Regions from separate parts of the Homo sapiens genome. Here regions 2, 3, 4, 5, 6 and 7 are each linked to region 1. Evidence: promoter capture Hi-C in 16 types of primary human blood cells and fetal thymus (Javierre and others, 2016). All regions are on one chromosome and are shown on one strand. Each heading gives the region's core, a stretch centred on a gene start or on the middle of the fragment in contact. The rest is flanking DNA. Distances are from core to core; before and after follow the strand shown.

Region 1 (3,053 bases), core at 554-3,053:
ACCTTGGCCTCCCAAAGTGCTGGGATTACAGGTGTGAGGCACGGCGCCCGGCCTGACTTACGTGATTTTTGTATTACAAAGCCCTAGTACACTGCCTGGTAATATTAGACGTTTATTAACGGTTGGTTTAAACAAAAAACTTTATACCAGAGGTGATACTTGAGAAGGCAACACCTAAGATTGAAAAAAATCAGGTGTCTGTCAGCCAATGCAAAAGCATACAAAGGTGAAAAGGCGTATATGGGAAACTGCGGATAGTTCTGTGACTGGAATGCACAGTTAAAATTAATGAAAGAGAAAAGGCTGAAGAGGCAGCATGAGGATGCTTCCAAGGATAAAGTTCAAAATTCTTAGCGTAGCATATATACCAACAGACAAAGGCATGCCCTAACTAGCTTTGAAGCCTCACCTCCGGCTATTCTAGCTCCCTTAGCTATGGCTATATCCAATTAGTTGCAATTTCCTAAAAACATCATATTCTTCCACACCTTAGTATAGCCTTCCCCTGTGCTTTGTCCACTGCTCTCCTCCCATTTTCAAAACTCAGCTCAATTGCCACTTTCCCAAAGAAATTCTCTCTGATCTATCAGGTTAATATAGGAGGCTCTCCCCTACTGACTTCTACCTCATGGTTTCTCTGGCAGTCTGTTGACTTGTTTGGCTTCTCACTAAAGTCTAACTGGGGCTTTTCAACTCTGCATCTCCAGTTCTGTTTTTGTTTTAAATCGAGACGGGGTTTCACCATGTTGCTTGGGCTGGTATCAAACTTCTGAGCTCACGCAATCAGCCCACGCTGGCGTCCCAAAGTGCTGGGATTACACACGTGAGCCACCGAGCGTGGCAAACTCCATCTTTCTTGGTGCTAGATACTGACATACCTGCTGTGTCCCTGGATAAAGAAGCGGACCCCAATTCCCATTAAGCCCCCGTGGTACCATTTTCAAGTCCGAGGTCTTACGTTGCAGATTGTACATCCAGGTTCCCTGACCCGTAGGATTTAAAAGTGAGGTCAAATAATTAAACAAATTGTTTTAGTCAGACACTCTTGCGGCTACTCTGTAGCCAAACTGGGTGAAAACCTGACCAGAGGAGTCCACGGCCCTCTGTACATCAAAGACGGTCCAAACGTCTCACTGTTTAGCTCAGTCCCAGACACACTGAGCTCAATCTGCACGAATCAGCGAGGTCCAGGGCAGATAACATGTGTCTAGGGGCCTGGACTTGCACAAAAAGCCTTAACAACTTCACAATTTGATTAATTATGCCGCCTTGGACCACGCGTGAAAAACAGCAAGACCCAAGGCCTATGCTATTGGTCTGGGGACTAGACCCACCTGGCTCAAGCATTTTTTGCTCGCCACGTTCCCAAAAAGAGAAGAGGCGCCCGTAAGAGGGGGGGGGGGGGGGGCAAGACTGTTCCAAGAGCTTTCCCGTTCACACACAGCTCCCGCTGGGTCACTGTACTCGAGCCCTTCCCGCCCTCGCGGGCCCAGGCGGCCACCCCACAGGTTTGGGAACCCTAGGACTTGCAGTGCTCCTGGGCCATGCCCCACCAGCCGGAGACTTCCGCACTCTCAGGCTCGCTGAGTGGAGAAAAGGGCTCCAGAAGATTCCACGAGCGCCGGGAAGCCGCGCTAGCACCAACACCCACAAGGCCTTTCGGCGCAGCTCCTCCCGACCCGTGCGCCCCCGCGCCGTTGCCCAGGTAACGGCGGGGCGGTGGCAGCGGCCGAGAAGGGCGGGACTTCCGGCGGGTGACGCGCCCGGGTTCGGCTACAAAAGAGGACGGCTGCGGCGCGCCGGGCGGAACTTTCCAGAACGCTCGGTGAGAGGCGGAGGAGCGGTAACTACCCCGGCTGCGCACAGCTCGGCGCTCCTTCCCGCTCCCTCACACACCGGCCTCAGCCCGCACCGGTGAGTTTGAGCCCTCGCGCTGCCCCTAGTCCCCTGGCTGGCGCCATTGGCGCCGGGAAACCGATGGAGCCGCGGTCGGGAGGCAGTTGGCCGCGTGGGTAGGACCGCTGTCAGTTCCTGGGCCCACGATTTCCCTTTTGGAGGGCTGGTGTGGTGCCCTGGCAACCCATCCCCGGCACGCACAGTGAATGGGCCCGAGACCTTTCCTAGACCTCCCTCCTTCCCCAGCCTGGGATCTCCAAGGAGCTACTGTCTTCGGCTGCCCCTCCGTGCGCGCCCCCGCGGCCCCCCTCCCCGTCCGTGCTCGCTCGGGGTGGGGGGGGGGAGTGGGGTTGGCGACCCTGCGCACGCGCACAGGGAGGCAGGGGCGAGGGGCTGCGGGGGGAGCCGGGCGGAGACTGCGGCTTTTGGTTTCGCTTTCTCTGTTTCCCCTCCCTTTGTTTGTTGAGGGCTGGGCTTTCCCCACCGCCACTTGGGTCCAGGGTGGGAGGGAGAAAGGAAGGAAATCGGTCAGCGCCAAGTGCAAGGGGAAACCTGGCAGGTAAACTCTGCCAGCCTGAGGGGCGAGAGGGATTCGGCTGGAGAAGCTGTAAGCCGTGGGCGGTGGAGGGCTTGCTGTGTGGAGCCAGTAACCTGTTCTATAAACCACTCCCCCCCACCACTGTGTGCCCAGACGTCTTTTTCTGGAGAGTATATGGAGTTTATCAGATTTGCCAAAGACAGTGATAGTGTAATGACCGGTAGACTGAACATATCAGTGCTTCTTTTGGTTACAACTGTCACCGCCTCTAGGGCAAACGGGAAGAATCCAGATAATAGTTGTGTTATATTAGTATGGAAGCTTTGGTGTAGGAAAATTGGAACCAGCTGCTAGAAGGCGGCTCTCAGATTATTTCCCGATAATGATTATTTGTTTTGTCTGTTCGAGTTTATAGCTGAATTATCGCAGGAATTGTTACCTTTTTGGTGAAATTTAGGGAAGGTGGTGTTCTTATAATCGGATTTTGCAAAGAGATTGCTCGGCCTTAGCTCTCTTTTTTATTAAAAGCTACCAGTTGAAAGCCGGTTAAAGTTGCATTTTCTTATTTCAGGCAGTAGAAGATGGTGAAAGAAACAACTTACTACGATGTTTTGGGGGT
Region 2 (3,053 bases), core at 379-2,878, 800 kb after region 1:
TCGTTTCTCTGGGTGGGATGTATGGTTCCTTAGCGACCACAGACATTGTTTCTGTTGTTTTATATGGTCTTAGAACAGTGGTTATCATTCCAGAATCTAATGATTTTTTTTTAACTCCAAGGTAGTTAACTTGGAGATAATGAGTGTTTGTTTTGTTTTGTTTTTACTTGAGTGTTTTTGCAGGGAGGAATCACAGATTGAAAGTCTGAATATTTTAAATGATGGGGGCAGAGAGAGGAAATGAGTGCTTAGGAATCCATTTAGTTTTATTTTTTTATTTTCAAAATTAAGTAAAATAGGCCAGTGAGTCAATTTTAGTTTGGAAGGGAGGGGTTATCTTGGCACAAGTTTTAAATGAGTATCTTAGTCATGTAGTTGTGATGTGTATTTTTAGGACTACCCAATTACTTAACTCTTGTTTTCTACCCTTCTAAAGGTGGAAACCTCAGTTTTATGCTTGAAATTAGGTCAACTTTGTAGGAAATGGGATTGATACAGGAATGTTTAATATTCACTACTGTATATAGTCACTGAGTACCTAGGAAAAGCACGTTTTTAGAATATTATGTAAGTGCGGTACCCCTACCAACTGTTAGGCTTCATCTTTTGTGGTCAGCCTACCCTATACTTTTCAGATGGAGGTATTTAAAATTACTAAGAAAACATGCAACTTATTAGTAACAAAGTGGAAAAGATATTGCTGTGTTTATGATGAAGCATATTCTCTGTTGTCAAATATAAATTTTTATGCATACTGGAAAAATTAGTTGTACAAAATTGAATGTATGTGATACCTTTCTTTTTTTTTTTTGAGACGGAGTCTCGCTCTGTCACCCTGGCTGGAGTGCAGTGGCGCGATCTCGCCTCACTGCAACCTCCGCCTCCCAGATTCAAGCTATTCTCCTGCCTCAGCCTCCCAAGCTGCTGGGACTACAGGCGCACGCCACCACGCCCAGCTAATTTTTGTATTTTTAGTAGAGATGGGGTTTCACCATATTGGCCAGGCCGGTCTCGAACTCCAGACCCTGTGATCAACCCGCCTCTGCCTCCCAAAGTGCTGGGATTACAGGCGTGAGCCACTGCGCCCGGCCATGATGCCTTTTCTGACAAAACATTGTTTAGCAAAATCTGCTGGCTAATGTTAGTGGAATAAAGTTTGATTTCCAAAAAGTGTCATTGTTTGGTACAACCGATATTTAAAATAAATAAATGGGTACTAGTTAGAATAATCTCACTCCAATAAAGTTAAAAACAAGAGCAAACAAAACAAAACAAAACAAAACTTGTACATGAGAGAAAATAATGGGTTGCAAGTTGTAATATTTGTGCATAAGTCTGGGAAAGGAGTGTGGAGAACCCTCTCTGAAATAGGAAGTATGGAAGGATTCCTTGTGTTAATACACTGATTTAAATTAAATGCTTCTGAACTTCAGTCCTTGTTTAAAAGAATGATTTAATCTCGTGCTTTGTGATGTTAGATTTCTTAAGCTTTGAGTGTTTTTACCTTTAATTCTGACATGTATGAAAATTTGTAAACAGGTTTTATGGTTTAGTCTTGTGTGAGAAGTTTGTTCGATTGTATTTTCGACTACTTTTTCCCTTATATGGCCTTTTATCCCATTAGTTGTTCATTAGAAAAAGGCAAATTTATGGTCATGAGCAGTTGACACTGGGGATATGTTTAAAACCATTGTTTTTATTTTACTGCTTTTGTCTTAAGACAAGGCTTTTAGTGTATTTCACTACAGCTGCAGTTGAAAGTTGGCACAAAGCTTTCCCTACCATATCACTCTTCTCCCTTATTAAATGTTAGTCCTTGAACATTTAGTATAATTTATTTTCAAGTTAAACTCTTTTCCCTTTTTGGCATAGTCATTCGTGAAGGCAGTGGGACTGCCAGTCATTCTTTACATTTTTCATACTGTAATTCCTTTAACTTTTATATATTAATAGGTTTCTAACTGATCTTTTTCACCCTGAAATAGTTGGCTCTTGTCTCTTACCCACAGGATCTGCATTGGAGATTTGTGAGACCTGTATTTCACAGAATTTTTTTATTCATCCTGCTTTCGCTTATTTAATATCGCCAATCCACGTGATTCTTAGTTTTGGGCCATATAGATGTAGGATGGGCAAAGATAGTTTCTTCTGTCCATTCTGAATACTATACAATCTTTTTTGGCCTTACTATCTTTTTGTGTAGTTTCTTATTTTGCTACCTAAGCAAGTCGGAATTTTATTGTTACTAGAAAAATAAATTGTGGATCAAGTCAGTAGCTAATGAAGACTTTTAACAAGTTCACCCCCTTTCTTTTGAAAGGAACTTTTTCAGGGTCTTTCTCTGTCACTTAGTTTGGGGTACAGTGGTGTGATCATGGCTCACTGCAGCTTCCACATCCTAGGCTCAAGCAGTCCTCCCACCTCAGCCCCCTGAGTAGCTGGGACTACAGGCATGACTACGCCCGGCTAATTTTTTTTTCTTCAGTATTGTTAAGTGAGGTAGGGTCTCACTATTTTGTCCAGGCTGGTCTCAAACTCCTGGGTTCAAAGGATCCTCCTTTCTCAGCCACCCAAAGTGCTGGTTTTACAGGCGTCAGCCACCATGCCCGGCTGGAACTATCTTTTCAAATAACTCCTGCTAAGGATTGTAGCTTAGTGTGGGTGCTTTAGTACTGAACCTCCTTGGAACTTTTGCATTATTTATCTAAAGCATTATAGCAGTGAGTCTAGAGCCAGAAAGAGTGCCTCTTTTATGATATGCATAACAAAAAAAAATTTTTTTTTTTTTTGAGATGGAGTCTCACTCTTTTGCCAGGCTGGAGTGCAGTGGCACGATCTCAGCTCACTGCAACCTCTGCCTCCTGGGTTCAAGCGATTCTCTTGCCTCAGCCTCCCGAGTAGCTGGGATTACCGGCGTGCGCCATGAAACCTGGCTAATTCTTTTTGTATTTTTAGTAGAGACAGGGTTTCACCATGTTGGCCAGGCTGGTCTTGAACCCCTGACCTTAAGTGATCTGCCCATCTCAGCCTCCCAAAATGTAATCCTAATTAGA
Region 3 (3,053 bases), core at 323-2,822, 650 kb before region 1:
CAAACAAACAAACAAAAAACAGGAATTTCTTTGTTACACCTGAAAGAAAGTAAGGAGGGAGAAAGAGAGTAGAAATGAGAAAGAAAAAGATGGTAGACAGCTATGTAGTATGAGATTAGACCCTTTCCCATTACTCTTGTAATGAAGAGAAATAGTCTATACAAAATAAAAGGCTTTACAATAATAACTGACATCTAATGAGCACTTACTATGTGCCAGTTACTCTTCTGAACATAGTATGCATATTGGCCTATTTAATCTCCATTACGACTCTATGAGGTAAAAATTATTATTACCACTGTTTTCTAGGTGAGGAAATTAAGGTACAGAGATGTCAAATATTTTTTACATGTGACACAACTACTACACAACTACAAATCCTAGATTCAAACCCAGGATTTAAAGACAACATGGCTCTAGGGCCTGTATTTTTTAGCCACTATATTCTAGTACAGGAGTCAGAAACTACTGCCCATAGGTCAAATACAGCCAGTAACCTGTTTTATAAATCATGAGAGCTAAAAGAGGTTTTTATATTTTTAATGGTTGTAAAAATAAGAAGACGAAAAGGAAGGAAGAGGAGGAGGAGGAGGAGAAGGAGAAGGGAGGAGGAAGAGAAGCTGTAATGCCAACAAAGACTAAAATATTTGTTATCTGCTCCATTACAGAAAAAGTTTTCCAGCCCCTGCTCTAGTGCCTTACTGTGATATGATATGATATAGCTCGGATGTTGTGCCCTCTAAATCTCATGTGCAACTGTAATCCCCACTGTCCTAGGGCCGGGTAGGAGGTGATTAGAACATGAGTATGGTTTACTCATGAATGGCTTAGAGCCATCTGCTCGATGCTGTCCTCATGATACTGAGTGAGTTCTTGTGAGATCCGGCTGTTTAAAAGTGTGTGGCATCTCCCCCTTCTCTCTCTTGCTCCCATTCTTGCCATGTGACATACCTGCCCCTGCTTAGCCTCCTGCCGTGAGTAAAAGCTCCCTGAGGCTTCCTTCAGAAGCCAAGAAGATGCCGTCGCCATTCTTACTGTACAGCCTGCAGAACCGTGAGCCAACTAAATTAAACCTCTTTTCTTTATAAATTACCCAATCTCAGATTTTCCTTTATAGCAATGCAAGAATGGCCTAATACAAGTGGTTTCCATGTAGAACCAGGAAAGGAGACAAATTGACCCATGTCGGATATTGCTGGGACAATAATGACAGCCTACAGGGATGCAGGAATGCGGTTGCTCAGAAAAATATGAAGAGGACACAAAATCCCTAAGCATGAGGAGGACTTTAGACTGTAACAAAGAACAGAAGTCAGCACCTGAAACAAAATCAACTGAATCTCTGAGGAGTAGAATCTACCGTGGATATAAGTTTTATATATATATTTGTGGAAATGGTCTGTCTCCTTGTAAGTCTCAAAATTATTTGCATGGAGTATTTCACAGTATTACATTAAGTTTTCTAACAGTCATATTTGTAGTTATATACCTCAATAAATGTTCACATATTTAAACCCATTTTTATTTAACTTGTCAGAGATTTGTATATTTCAATGTTTTTTCCAAAGATATTGTTCTCAGAATTAGTGTCAATTCTATATATTTTCTACTTCATTGATATTTTGTGATACTAATTTATATTTCCCTTAGTTTTTTTCTAACTTCATTAGTTTCTCTTTTTTTAAATAGCTACAGAACTTAAGGCTATACATTTGCCACTATATACAGCTTTGGTTGCCTACAAAATATTTCAGGTGGAGAATTGTAATGCTTATTTGTATTATTAATGAAGTTACATATTCTATTCACAATATAGGTCTTGAAAAACATGGAGAATACAGATACTATACAACAAAGAAAACTCTAGTCAATGATTTTAAAACATAATATATAACAAATAAAATATATGACTATAAATGTGCTTCAGTCAGGGTATGGAAGGCATATATAAAACTAGCAAAATTGGCAATGAGTTGATAATTGTTGAAAATGAGTAATATTTAAACTATTATAGACATCATTATTATATTCTCATTATAGTTCATTATTATAGTCTCATAGTTCATTAAAATATTCTCTTTTGTAAATGGTTATTATTAATAATAATAAAAATTTTTAATTCACTAAATAGTAAAGTTCTAAATTTCCAGGTTGGTAAAATTTGGTGCAGATACATGACAAGCTGATTTTTTCCTCAATGTAATAACAAAACTACATGGCCAAATTTGTGCCTTGTGATTTCAACCAAACACCATAGCCAAAACCAAAACACAGATACCTGTCAGAGTTTGGGATTTTACTCTACTTGTAATCTAATAAGAGCCTGTACTATTTTATGGATATTGGCAGAAGACACAAGACTCCTGGGTCATATGAGTCCCATCATTACTCATGACACAGCAAGTAGCATAAGTATCATGTTGCATCTGGTCTCCTTGTTCAAAGTCCCACCAGGATGATGCAGAGGGACCCAGAAGGATGCAACACATACAATGGATTTATGTTGCAGCCAGGGAACACTGAGCTTGGAGATTCACTGTTTTCACAGTAAGGGGTAAGAAAGCCTGCTCTTTAAGCCCACACACATCCATGATCCACAATTATGTCATGATCCAGACTCAACAATTATAAAGTTTTGGACAATATTGTTTCATCTATATACTCATTCACTTCTTGCCCCCTCTCAAATGCAATAATTTTCAAGAAAATACCTGACTTTATAAAATTTAAACCCTCATGGTTGCTCACTAAAACACAACCCTGAGAAATGGCCTGGGTAAAGAGCAGTCAGGGCCTTGAATTCTTGGCACACCCAGCAAAAATGCGCACAGATACTCAGGACCTGTGAGAGATTGCCTTTATCTTCAATCCTCCCTCTGTCCCTATGTGTACTGGCTTCTCATAAACTTTCACATAAGTATGTCACTCTGTTGATCACTCGGATTAATTTGACCATCAGGGCTAGAACTAAACCTGTTCAATTGGTCTCATATAGCATTTAATTAAGGTTACCATCAAAGGGACTCCAAACAACAGGATAAAATTAACCTGCA
Region 4 (3,053 bases), core at 371-2,870, 620 kb before region 1:
CTAGCTATTAAAGAAGTACCAAGATTGGCTTTTTAATGTCTCAACTTGGCAAAAGGTAAATATGAATTCTATTGCCTGGTTTGAGTACCTCCACTCACTGCCTCAGAGAAGGGTCGTAAAATTGGTACAGCCTTTTCCAGGCATCCTGGTGATATGCAAATCCTTTCACTCGGCTCTTTTCTAGGAACTGAAAGCTAGAAATTTATTTGAAAGAAATGATTTAAGGACCTACTAACGATGTGAGTATACAAGGCATCATTGTTTGAATGCTAGTACTTGGAAACAACCTAAGTATTTTAATAATAGGGAAATTGTTATATATCTGAAGGATAGATTTTTATGGTATAGTTTAAAGTGCTGTAAAATATCACACGATTGTCCTATTAAGATATTTGAGGTTTATTGTTGAGTGAAAAAAAGCAATTAGCAAAACAATGTGAGGTCTAGTGATTTTTTTTTTTTGAAAAATTCAAATGCGTTTAAAAGTCATGGTAAATGAAACTGTAAATCATGGTATTACAAAGGATTTTATTTTGTTCTTTTTGCTCACCTGCATTTTCTGTTGTTGCTACAGTGAGCATCTATTTCTTTTATTTTTTTCTTTTTCTGTTTTTTTTTTTTTTTTTTTTTTGCGATGGAGTCTCGCTGTGTCACCCAGGCTGGAGTGCAATGGCACGATCTTGGTTCACTGCACCCTCCGCCTGCTGGGTTCAAATAATTCTCCTTCCTCAGCCTCCTGAGTAGCTGGGACTCCAGGTGTGTGCCACCATGCCCGGCTAATTTTTGTACTTTTAGTAGAGATAGGGTTTCACCACCTTGGCCAGGCTGGTCTCAAACTCCTGACCTGAGGTGATCCGCCCATCTCGACCTCCTAAAGTGCTGGGATTACAGGTGTAAGCCACTGCGCCTGGCTGTATCTATTCCTTAGTGTAATATTTTTTAAAGTTACCACCACCCAAGAAGATGTGGTTCAGTAACAAATTTGGTATCCTGCTGAGATTGGAAAGGGAGCTGGGGATGGGGTGGGAAGGGAGGGCCCCCCTTGGATTAGTGTGTTTGACTTGAATGAGGTGTGGCACTGTTCATCTAAGGCTAAATTTGAGCCATTCAGGGATTCTCTTCACAGCTCTTTCTCTCTGTTGGTGAATATCAAAGGACATATTGAGGGGAGCAAAGTGGACTTTATCTGGAGTTATAGTCACAAATTTAAATACATCTTCACCAGTCATTATTAAAGAAAGATCTGCATTTGTAGTTCCAGGAACTTTACGGACCATTCTATCTTTCTTTCAAAGGGTATTGCTGAAGATGTCAAGTTCTCATTTTATAGAGATGCTAATGTAGGTATTTATGTACAAAGTTTAAATGACCGCTCCAGTGTTTTAAGAAGTAAGTAGTAAATGAATGCATGCTTATCAAAAATAGAATTTGAATAATACAGGAGTATGAAACATAGAAAGCTAAAGTCTCCCCTTTATACAATGTGTTATTCTATTTGTAATCCATGTTAACTTTATGTCTTTCTTTTTTGTGCATTTGCATATGCAATGGTGTGTGTGTATGAATGAATATACACTAATGGTCTTGAAGTTTTTTTTTTTTTTCACTTAAATCAGATCCTAGTATATACATATATATATTATTTTGCAACTTTAAAATTCTCATATCATTTAATGTGAGCCTTTACTAACATTTTGTATCTTGAATCTGAGTAAGGGATTGTATACGCAATATTATATCAGGAAAATTGATTTGCCCTTACTGTGGCTTTTGGAAAAAAGTGGCACCCAGGGCAGATCATCAGAAACCTAAATTTAAGTTGTTTTTCCAAAGTTTAGCTGTCAGTTCTCTGGAATTCTGAAACACATGGAAGTTTTAGTAAGTGATTATAGAACTAACATCACAGAAGCACCAAAAGACTGTGATACACCTAGGTAGTACTTTTTTCAACTCTACCTGTGAAAGATTTTAAGGGTTTTTTTTTTCCCCCTGAGGGAAATTTGCATTTCACTGGAGGGCAAATCAGCTGTATTTTTTTTTTTTTCTGGTTATCCCACTAATGAGTCCTGTGACCCTAGGCAGTCAGTTGCTTTTCAGGGCCTCTCTGTCTTCCTCTGGGGAATGCTACATGATTGCTAAGGTTCTTTACTAAAAACTCAACATTCTATGTCTCATTACCTCCTTAGCACCTAAGGTCAAGGTGTCCCTAGGGAATGGTGACAGGTTGGTGCCATGCCTTAGTGCCATGCTATGTATGCACAAAAGGTGCTACTCCAAGGCACCTGCAAGTGTCCTCAATTGAGCCAAAGGTCAGTTGGTAGCAAGACTGTGGTTGGGGAAAAACCCTAGCTCTTCACTCCTCCCACCCTTTTACTGGGAGCATGGCTCATTTGTTAAATGTCTTACCCTAGTTCTGCCTGCCTTTGCATAATATTTGTTATTTTTTAGTGACCTACTTTAAAAATCTGGTGTTCAGACTGTCCATGCCCACCCCCGTTCTTGCATGCAGAGTGTACCTGTGCTAATCATAACCCTGTACAAGTCACCCAGCTAGTATTTCAGGATGGGTTAGCTTTGAAAGACACTGTTTCTCTACCAAATAATTATCTTGACTTTCAGAATGTGAACTACATGTAATGAAGGGTTTCAGATACAGTAGCTCCGTTTTTATTCCTTTTGTTTAAGAACTGTTCATCTGTCTTCCTTGATTCAGTGGCCAGGGACAAGTGTTCAGCTGTCTTCATCATTCTGACAAGCGTCCCGGAGGGACAAGTTCTGAATAATTGCTCCCACCTTGTACCTTAAAAGATACCATTTCCCATTCCTTCCTTCTTTTTTTTTTCTTTTTTCTTCTCCTCTTTTCTCTTCTTGCCACCATGTAGTATCATCTCATTCTATAGAACAAAGAAAGCAGCAACCCCAAATAGTGTGATATATGCTAACTCTTCCCTCTTTCAAAAAAGAAAAACACCATATATATTTAGATACTCTGCCATCTCCAAAATGTCCACATTCATTGTCTTCGTTTGTTCATTCCTATCTTTTATTGTTGA
Region 5 (3,053 bases), core at 141-2,640, 600 kb before region 1:
ATCTTGAAATATTTTTCTTAATATCATTTGTATTTTGGGCACACTTTGTCTTTCTTTTTATAAATAAAAACTATTTGACATCATCTTAGATTTATGGGAGAGTTAGTATAAAGAGTACAGAGAATTCCTGTTATCTTTCTCCCAGCTTCCCATAATGTTAACATCTTAAATAACCATGGCACATTTATCGAAACTAAGAAGTTAACATTGGTGTGGTACTCTTAACTACAGACTTTACCAGTTTTTTCAGTAATGTCCCAGAATTCTGCTCCAGAATCCAATCCAGGATACCATGTTGCATTTAGTTGGCATTGTTTTTTAAGTTTTGAAAGTGATCACAAATGTGTTGGGCTGATTTACTATTTGGGTTTACTGACAAGACTAGTTTATAAGAAGTGCAAGATGGTAGTTCTGCATTTTGAATGTGGGCCATCAGATCTCAAACTTTTCTGTTGTTTCTGCTGCTTAGCACCTCCGCCAGGTTGGGGTAGTGGGCAAATTTGTCGAGTTCTTCGGGCCTGGAGTAGCCCAGTTGTCCATTGCTGACCGAGCTACGATTGCTAACATGTGTCCAGAGTACGGAGCAACTGCTGCCTTTTTCCCAGTTGATGAAGTTAGTATCACGTACCTGGTGCAAACAGGTAAGTGAAGGGCCCTGAAAGCATCGGGCTTTTTGTAAAAGTTCCATGAAACACCAAGAATCTGAGCACTGCCTTCTGCCTCTACCCAACAGAAGGCACTGGGTTACAGTTACACAATTATTTTTTTCTCCATGGAGTCAAAATGGGTTTTTGGGATTTAAGGAGTTAATATGAGATAGAGATGGTATGGCCAATAGAAAGAGCTCAGAGATTACAGAAGCCTGGATATTTATACTGGTCCTCTACTACTAGTTTTTTGACATTAAACAAGTGATCTTAGTAATGGTTACTGCTGCCTATGGGGTACTTGCTGTGTACCAGGTACCTAGTATGTATTTGCTGTCAACCTCTTTACAGATCTGTAGGGTAGATTGATTGACTAGTTAATTAACATTAGAGAAAACTGAGGAGCAGAGAAGTGTTCATACCCAAGGCTAATAAACAGCAGAGTCAGAATCCAACCCTGCAACTGCCTGGCCCCATACAGGAACAGCACTCTGCAACACCCCTCTCAGGGATGTCTAAAAAATGAAATGAGTCCAGGCATGGTGGCTCACTCCTGTAATCCCACCACTTTCAGAGGCCAAGGCAGGCAGATCTGACCTGAGGTCAGGAGTTCGAGACCAGCCTGGCCAACATGGCGAAACTCCCAGGAGGTGGAGGTTATGGTGGGCCGATCTCGCACCACTGCGCTCCAGCCTAGCCAACAGAGAGACTGTCTCAAAAAAAAGAAAAAAGAAAAGAAATGAGAGTGTGATGTGATAATGAGAAAGAAAGGGGAGGTGGCTGAAGTACCCCAGAGGTGCTTGCACAGATCTCTGGATGAAGTGAAGGGACAGCCATGGGAAGGGTTTCATGAGAATCTTACAGACTCCAAATAAATCTTAGTCTTCTGCTGTAGCCTGAGGAAATTCCTCTAGAAATAGTAAAGATTGTCATGAAAAAGTTTATTTAAAGAAGTTTTTATTAAATATAAACACATTGAAATTGATTAATACATCTTTGTTCTCCCAAAGGATTTTAAGTGAAAAAGATAACTAAAAGAACAGAATAAATAATTGAGGGAATCAACCTAAAGAAAGAGAGGGATAGTGTGCTGGGTAGAGGGATAAAAGCTGTGAGATGGATCTAGAGGGAAGGTTAGTTGGTTAGTTCCCGTGGTGCTGCAGGTGGCCATTATACTTCTTGGTAATCCAGTGCCAAATTTGTAACATCTATTAAATTGAAACAAACATATTGCTTCAGAATAGTGTAGCCCTTTCTCATAGTAAACCCTAAGAAAGATTTCTCCTGTTCATCTTCATGAAGAGCATGGCATGGGTTGTAGTGAACAGCGGGCTCAACAACAGGTCAGGACAAATACATTAGTGAAGCTCATACAGCTGTCTTTTATGAGGTCTGTGCTGAGAGCTAATGACGTTTACAGTTCAGCTAAAACAAATAGACAAACAAAAGTTCTGATCAGTGGTAGGATCAGCCAAAGGATCAAACCTTCTGTTTCTAACCATCAGAGAAATTGTGGACTGCATGTCCGTTGGGCATACTTCATGAGTATTATCTCCTACCCCGGGATCTTGATAAAAGTTAAATAGCAGAGGGTTCAAGGTCATATTCCTGGTGATGCAGCATCGTGAGTTAAGACTTTGAACTTTTGGGTCAAGCTCTGGTTTGGATTTTGGTTCTACCGTTTACTGGCTGTGTTACATGAGAAAGTTACTTAGTCTTCTTGAGCCGCCATTTCCTTATCCATAAATGAGAATAATAATTGTACTTGTATCTTAAGACTATGATAAAGGATTAGAGATTGAGGTAATACATTTAAAATGTTTAGGACACAGTGCCCAGAAAGTGCTCAGTAGCCAGTGGTTTCAGGTGGGGTTGGGATGCGTTTTAATTTTAACGGTAATCATGTGGAATGCTGAATCTTTGTGGCCAGTTGAAGGCAAATGCATAGGTGTGCTTTCACAATTAGCTCAGGTGTAAGATTCTCCTAATTAAAGGCTATACCCCAAAAGAGGCGGGTTATCTATAGATAGAACCAGAATCTTTTTCAGAAAACAGTCACTTTGATAGGAACAGCACATTCATTAATGGCCCCTAATAAAAAGCAGCATCAGTGGGAGAGTCAAACCATTAGCCTGGAAGCCTAAAAATTGACAGAGCTGTTGGTGTGTGTGTAAGTGCAGCGTATGTTGCGTACTTACATAATTGCTAATGGAAGTATCAGTTTATAAACTTCAACCAGGAAATACTAACCTATGTTACTTGTTACTCCTTAAAATGCCTTTTAGGTCGTGATGAAGAAAAATTAAAGTATATTAAAAAATATCTTCAGGCTGTAGGAATGTTTCGAGATTTCAATGACCCTTCTCAAGACCCAGACTTCACCCAGGTATGAGAGTGCCTTCCACT
Region 6 (3,053 bases), core at 406-2,905, 590 kb before region 1:
GTTGGAACGGGACTGAGAGCTCCAGGAATGATAGCTCCATGACAGAGATTTTAAAATGGTAAATTGCCTGATGTGTCTGAATATCTTTAAAGGTGATTTGTACTGTAGGGTTTAATTAATGGGTAAGGACATAGAAACAGGAAAAACATAGAAAAAATGAAAATTAGTAATTTTCAAAAAAATTCATTCAAAACAAATGAAAATTACTGACTCCAGTGAAACATGTCTTAAATCACCAAGAAAAGGAAATCACAGCACATTACCTGGCTCAGCTGTAAATAGTATTTATGTAGTCATAATCATGCAAACACCAAATGCTGACTTACCAAAATAACTATATTGGGAGGTTGGGAAGAAGGGAGATGTGTGGAAGAGGAGAGATTGTTAAGAGAAGTAAATCCTCAAAGTAGAATATTGACAGATAATTTTAAAAAGTGGAGAAATCAAGAACTAGTAGTTTAAACATAATACCTAGAGATACACAGGCACAGTAACAGAAGAAATAGCTAAATGCTATGTTCTCTTTAGAAGAGCGTAAGAGTGCAGGGAGCTGTTGCTTTCTAAGCTGTCAGTGGCTCTCAGCATGGCGTGTTTAATAGAAAAGTCAGGAGACGTGAGTTCTAGACCTGCTTAGTCCCTCTGATCTTGGGTAACATGACGTGCTTTGCCATGAGATTGTCAACTTTGCAGTACTTTTTAAAGCACACACTCTCACATTGTTAATACCCAAAGCTACAGTCTCTGAAAATATCAGATAAGTTGTTTCTTTCTGGTCTTTGAAAGGATCCAGACAATTCAGTTAGAAGAAGGTTTTCACTGTTTCTATGACAGTTTCTATATTTACGAGTTCTGTCTAGCTGAAGACATACAGAATCCTATCCGGGTTTAGGTAATGCATGCGAAATTAACCACAGGTTCCATCAGTACACCAAAATACAAATTTGTGAAAGTCTGTTTGAGAGTTTTCTTTAGCTCCTGTCTCTCTTTTGAGGAATTTTATCTTCTGACTTACATAGCCTGGAAAAATAATGGTACTGCTCAACCACCAGAGATGATATCATGTCTTTGTAAAGTCTCAGTTCAGTGAGATATTCAGATTCCCTGTGAGAAACAAATCTGTTTGTATAAGATGTTTCTCATGTACTAAAATATTAATCTTTTTCTACCTTTTATTGGGCTTCCATTTGCATTTCTAGCATCTCTTCCCTTGACCTCCATGAAGAAAGGGGACTGATAAAAGTTTGCACTTTATATAATTTCAGAACATGTTACCTTCTTTGTGTTTTGCTAATTTTACAACTGACATCACCGAGTTTCTGATATTGAGCCAAAATGTTTAGGTCACATTCTGTTTTTTGAGTTTTAAAATAATTTAGTCAATGGAAAAGAAAAAATCTGATCTAGTTTCCTTTTCTCCCCTGATGCCTTAGGATTCTAATGTTTTTATAAAACCAACAACAATTAGGCATTTCTGTCAAAAGAATATAAAATGGTTTTTAAGAATACAAAATTTAAGGCCGGATGCAGTGGCTTACGCCTGTAATCCCAGCACTTTGGGAGGCCGAGGTGGGAGGATCACTTGAGGTCAGGAGTTCAATACCAGTTTGGCCAACATGGTGAAACCCCATCTCTACTAAAAATACAAAAATTAGCTGGGTATGGTGGTGTGCGCCTGTAATCCCAGCTACTTGGGAGACTGGAGCAGGAGAATCAATTGAAACCCGGGAGGTGGAGGTTGCAGTGAGCTGAGATCGTGCCACTGCACTCCAGCCTAGACAATAGAGTGAAACTCTATCTCAAAAAAAAAAAAAAGAATACAAAATTTAATTTGGTAGAAGTAAAAAGATCAAGATAATTGGGAATTTGTAGACAAGATGATTGGACGGATTTGGCCATCTGCAAACCCATCCAGCCCCGCCCTCACCAGGGCTCAGGGGACCTGTGTCCATTCTTTGCCTCTCCTGCATCTGTAAAACTTCCTTTTCTCTTCCTCAGCTTGATGTGTTTGATGCTGCTGAGCGGTACCAGCAGGCAGGCCTTCCCCTGATCGTTCTGGCTGGCAAAGAGTACGGTGCAGGCAGCTCCCGAGACTGGGCAGCTAAGGGCCCTTTCCTGCTGGTGAGTATGAAGTAGACATCCTAGGAGGCAGCTCCCCTCTGAACTGGGAGGGTCCCCAGGCACAAATCCTGTTGCTTTACTTTCCAAGAAGATGTCAAGGAAGAGCAAGCTCAAAAAAGCAGGTAGTGTTTATTCCTGGCCTGCTTCTTGGTGCCTCTGGATTTATTTTATTTGGTGAAGGGCAATGCAGAGTTGAACTGGATCTATCATTCATTAATGGACCTTGGGGGCATGTCTATAGAACAGTTTTGGGGTAGGGTCTGTGAAGTCTCTGAAAACATATCCAGAAGTATACATGTATGTCTTTCATGGGGAGAGGTGTCATGGCTTTTATAACATTCTCAGAGGCTGAGGACCCCAAATTTATTCAGGTCCCTTGTTCCAGGTGAATGTCAGGAATAAGCCAGGGCCATTGTATTATCTGTCAGTTTCACAGAAGAGAAAAGGAGCCTGGACTTTTTCAGGAGTTACTTTGGCAAGAATGGGTTCTAAGTCTCCTGGAAAATTGGGAGAATCACTTTTTATAATTGCACTTCACTGCCTATGAATATCTGCTTATGGGCTCTCGATGAGAGTGAAACTCACTCTGCACATACCCAGGCAGCTCTTTAGAACCTTCCGCCATCTCGGGGCTCTACCTCTTGAGGTGTCCCCATAGAAGGGGCCATGCAGGGAGCAGAGAGCTTTTGCCTCTTGAGCATTTGCTTGCCCTAAAAGCAGAGAAGAATCATGCCACCCAGCCTGAATCTTCAGGGTGGGGTACACATGGCTTACCTGATGTCAATTTAAATCATTTGTGGCTCGCAAATTAATGCACCTCGGAAACACTAAGTTCATATCCACAAGTACAGTAAAAAAATGTGGCTGTCTGGCAGGCAGTTCTCCAGACATTTAGGCTTCTGATAATGTCTTTGAACATCACACCTATTATTTTA
Region 7 (3,053 bases), core at 275-2,774, 560 kb before region 1:
GTTATTAGCACTATTAAATATAATTTAACCTCATTGACATTTAAAAACAGAATGAATTTAATATTCACTAAGTATAAACTTTTTGTTGTAATATAACACTCTAAGCAATATGATAAAAGATACCAACCATCCTCCTCACATTCCCTGATAGTTATTTATGGTCAGATGCTGGAAGAATAACGTAGACTTACCTTTTCCCTAAATACTGCTTCGTCCCATGTCTGAAGGCGTAAAATAGAGTCATTCATCATTTTTTCTTTGTACATGTTTATTTGTTCTTTTTCAATTACACCAGCATTACTAGTCAGAAGGAAGCACTTGCTACCTCTTGCTCTTCCTCTGCCTATTAGAAAATAAATATTTTAGTTGGTGTTTTTGACTTAAAGCTCTGATATAATCTGCAAATAGGTAAACAAATAGAGGTACTCCTAAAATTCAACTTTGGTTCACTGAATCCCACTTCCCAGGAAAGTTGAGCTGTTAAAGAGTGAACTCATGAGGCAGGATTGCTTGAACCCAGGAGTTTGAAGCTGCAGTGAGCTAGGATTACACCACTGCACTCTAGCCTGGGTGACAGAGCAAGACCTATCTCAAAAAAAAAAAAAAAAAAAAAAAAAAAGACTCAAATGCAGGTGTGCACCTGCATGTTAAATATGTGGAAAAACTAGGAGCCCACCTTAGGCTGGCTTTCTCAGGGTCTCAACAATGCAGGGTGATTAGACAGCCGTACTGTCAGAAACACTGCTTTAAAGATACCTACATGAACCCCCAGTATGACACTGTGATGGCTCTAAGATGAGCAGTAAACAGGCCCTCCTTCAAGAACCTTCTAGACAATGAGGAAATAAGATCTCTTCATAACCAGCAAAACATAGGTGGAAAATTTTAAGTGCTATTACAAAGACAGATATAAAAGGTTATAGGCTTTATATGTTCAAAAGAGAGATTTTTGCCAGCTGGGAGGATTAGGGTCAGGTGATATGGAGGCAGGGGAAGAGGTAAAATGAAGAGTAGCAGTATCTGAGCAGTTCCGTCAACAAGCAATAAGTGAGGAAGTCAGGTTGGCGGAAGTGGATAATGCACAAAAGGGAAGAATGGGAAATAAAGTTGGAATGAAATAGGTGTTGGATTTTGGAAACTCTTTAGCATCAAGTAAATTGGGGAACCACTGGTGTTTCAATACAAGGAAGTGACACGATCGAGCTGTTTTTCAGGAAAAGTAATATGATAGCTGTACTTATGGAATTTTAAGAAGAAAAGGAAAAAGGAGGAAAGAATAGTTAGGAGACTAGTCAAGTCCAGGTGGGGCAGAACAACTCTGGAGTATCCCTTCTTGAATACAGGGGGCCCTTCAGCCCACCAGCACCACCATGAAAGGTTTACATGTTGACTGGCAAAGCTTCAATCCAAGTTGGAATTATTCTTCCATAAATATATCAGTCAATGCCAGGCAAGTGAGCAGCATCATTGTAAGAATCAAAGTAGAGTTTATGTTAGTGAACAAAACTGTAGCCACCTTAAGGGCCAATGATACCAAAGTGCACTGTGCCATTGGTCACATACTCAACCATGGCTCAGTAAAGAGAAAGGCCAGAATGACACATACACTTATAAATCAGTCAAAACAGAATCCATGTAGGAATGGCCTCAAAGCTTCTCTTACCTCTGGTTTGGATCATTTTGATGACATTGCCCACATACTCATAAAGGATGACAAGATTGCACTGTGCAATGTCAATGCCTTCATCAGCAACTGAGGTGGCAATCAGAATATTGTGATCTCCACTGGCTTTGAATGCATCCAATATACACTTCTGTGCCGGGAGGGTCATTCCTGTGTCAGAGTAAGAGGGCATTATACAACTCACCAAAGAGGGAACTTCCCCCTTGAAAAAACAGCTACTAATTATGGAATGCTTATTATATGCCAAGTACTGTGATAAGTACTTTATATCCATGATCTCACAACACACCTAGGCAGTGGGATCTATTCCTATGCCTGTTTCAGAAAGGACATTTAGGGTGGCATCTAACACTCAGACTCTGCCACAAGACTGAGTTCAAATCCCAGCTCTGGGGGACTTACTAGTTGTATGGCTTTAGCCATATTATCCAAGAAATAGACATTTTTGCAGAAATATCAACACCTAATTGTAACACCTTTACATGTGTGTAAGAATTTATAGCTGACAAAACATTTTCACATCTTCTCACTCACCAGAGCATCATAAAGCCCTATAGGTCAAAGGGTAAGTGCTCTGATTCCCCTTAACAAACGAGGGTCGTGCCAGGCATGGTGGTTCACGCCTATAGTCATAACACTTTAGGAGGCCAAGGCAGGTGAATCACTTGAGCCTAGGAGTTTGAAATCAGCCTGGTTAACACAGGGAGAACCCATCTCTACAAAAAATTTAAGAATTAGCTGGGCATGGTGGCACACACCTGTAGCCCCAGCTACTCAGGAGGCTTAGGTAAGAGAATCACCTGAGCTGGGGAAGTTGAGGCTGCAGTGAGCCATGATGGCACTACTACACTCCAGCCTGGGCAAGAGAATGAGACTCTATCTTAAAAAAAAAAAAGACACAAATGAGGGGCTTGAGGTTCCAGAAGTGAGGTAAACTGACAAGCTAGCTATCAGCAGTGTTGGGCCTTGAACTTCAGTTTAAGACCCTAATAGTGTGCACTGTTGGGGTGTCTGCCTCCCCATACACAAACTAAGAATCATTTTCTGCCACACCCACCCACAATACAGTTGTATTATGTTTCTCTATGAAAGAGGCAATGCTATCTGCTCACCAATCTTGTTTCTTTCTCCTGCTAGGCACACACAGCTGAATTATATTTCGCAATCTAAACTGTCACTAATGGCATGTAGACAGAGGTCATGTGTGTCTCTTCCAAACCAGACCCCTAAAAATTGTCCATGTTCTTGTTATTTCTCATCAATGGACCAGATAAGGTCATAGTGGAGGATTTGGAGACCCCCTGTGATGACAGAGCCATAACAAGGAAGGAGCCTGGGTCCCTACAATAAGTGGAAGAGGATGGAGCAG

Evidence for each region. The method cuts DNA at HindIII sites, captures the fragments that hold promoters and counts their contacts. A CHiCAGO score of 5 or more calls a contact.
Region 2: a contact is called between a fragment that was not itself captured here and the fragment with the promoter of DNAJA1 in region 1, in 1 of 17 cell types (fetal thymus). The highest score is 7.7, in fetal thymus.
Region 3: a contact is called between a fragment that was not itself captured here and the fragment with the promoter of DNAJA1 in region 1, in 1 of 17 cell types (erythroblasts). The highest score is 5.0, in erythroblasts.
Region 4: a contact is called between a fragment that was not itself captured here and the fragment with the promoter of DNAJA1 in region 1, in 5 of 17 cell types (M2 macrophages, M1 macrophages, M0 macrophages and 2 more). The highest score is 13.7, in M2 macrophages.
Region 5: a fragment that was not itself captured here is called in contact with the fragment with the promoter of DNAJA1 in region 1 in 4 of 17 cell types (endothelial precursors, M1 macrophages, M2 macrophages and 1 more); the score reaches 7.7 in endothelial precursors.
Region 6: a contact is called between a fragment that was not itself captured here and the fragment with the promoter of DNAJA1 in region 1, in 4 of 17 cell types (endothelial precursors, M1 macrophages, M2 macrophages and 1 more). The highest score is 8.9, in endothelial precursors.
Region 7: a fragment that was not itself captured here is called in contact with the fragment with the promoter of DNAJA1 in region 1 in 4 of 17 cell types (M1 macrophages, M0 macrophages, M2 macrophages and 1 more); the score reaches 9.9 in M1 macrophages.

Annotation. Positions count from the first base shown.
Region 1 is chr9:33,023,470-33,026,522 of GRCh38, forward strand. It overlaps DNAJA1 (DnaJ heat shock protein family (Hsp40) member A1), which reads left to right and starts at 1,804. Exons shown (of 9, transcript NM_001539.4): 1 at 1,804-1,914; 2 at 3,006-3,053. The coding sequence starts at 3,016. It also overlaps a transcript of APTX not described here. RefSeq lists enhancers at 644-1,239, 1,562-1,856, 1,834-2,428, 2,385-2,454 and silencers at 1,715-1,864, 2,145-2,284. The HindIII fragment of the contact is 3,848 bases long and covers 1-2,753 here.
Region 2 is chr9:33,818,846-33,821,898 of GRCh38, forward strand. All of the region lies in intron 1 of UBE2R2 (ubiquitin conjugating enzyme E2 R2), which reads left to right. UBE2R2-AS1 (UBE2R2 antisense RNA 1) reads right to left here and starts at 23. Exons shown (of 5, transcript NR_170204.1): 1 at 1-23. The HindIII fragment of the contact is 284 bases long and covers 1,487-1,770 here.
Region 3 is chr9:32,369,065-32,372,117 of GRCh38, forward strand. No RefSeq gene overlaps it. Among named protein-coding and RNA genes, the nearest start is that of ACO1, 14 kb to the right of the region's middle. The HindIII fragment of the contact is 7,926 bases long and covers 1-3,053 here.
Region 4 is chr9:32,399,358-32,402,410 of GRCh38, forward strand. All of the region lies in intron 1 of ACO1 (aconitase 1), which reads left to right. Among named protein-coding and RNA genes, the nearest start is that of ACO1, 16 kb to the left of the region's middle. The HindIII fragment of the contact is 7,739 bases long and covers 1-3,053 here.
Region 5 is chr9:32,420,387-32,423,439 of GRCh38, forward strand. ACO1 (aconitase 1) reads left to right here. Exons shown (of 21, transcript NM_002197.3): 8 at 470-641; 9 at 2,933-3,033. Among named protein-coding and RNA genes, the nearest start is that of ACO1, 37 kb to the left of the region's middle. The HindIII fragment of the contact is 5,989 bases long and covers 1-3,053 here.
Region 6 is chr9:32,438,470-32,441,522 of GRCh38, forward strand. It overlaps ACO1 (aconitase 1), which reads left to right. Exons shown (of 21, transcript NM_002197.3): 19 at 1,996-2,118. Among named protein-coding and RNA genes, the nearest start is that of ACO1, 55 kb to the left of the region's middle. The HindIII fragment of the contact is 3,679 bases long and covers 1-3,053 here.
Region 7 is chr9:32,466,099-32,469,151 of GRCh38, forward strand. RIGI (RNA sensor RIG-I) reads right to left here. Exons shown (of 18, transcript NM_014314.4): 15 at 1,664-1,834; 16 at 192-343. LOC124902138 (a long non-coding RNA gene) reads left to right here and starts at 2,517. Exons shown (of 2, transcript XR_007061449.1): 1 at 2,517-3,053. The HindIII fragment of the contact is 254 bases long and covers 1,398-1,651 here.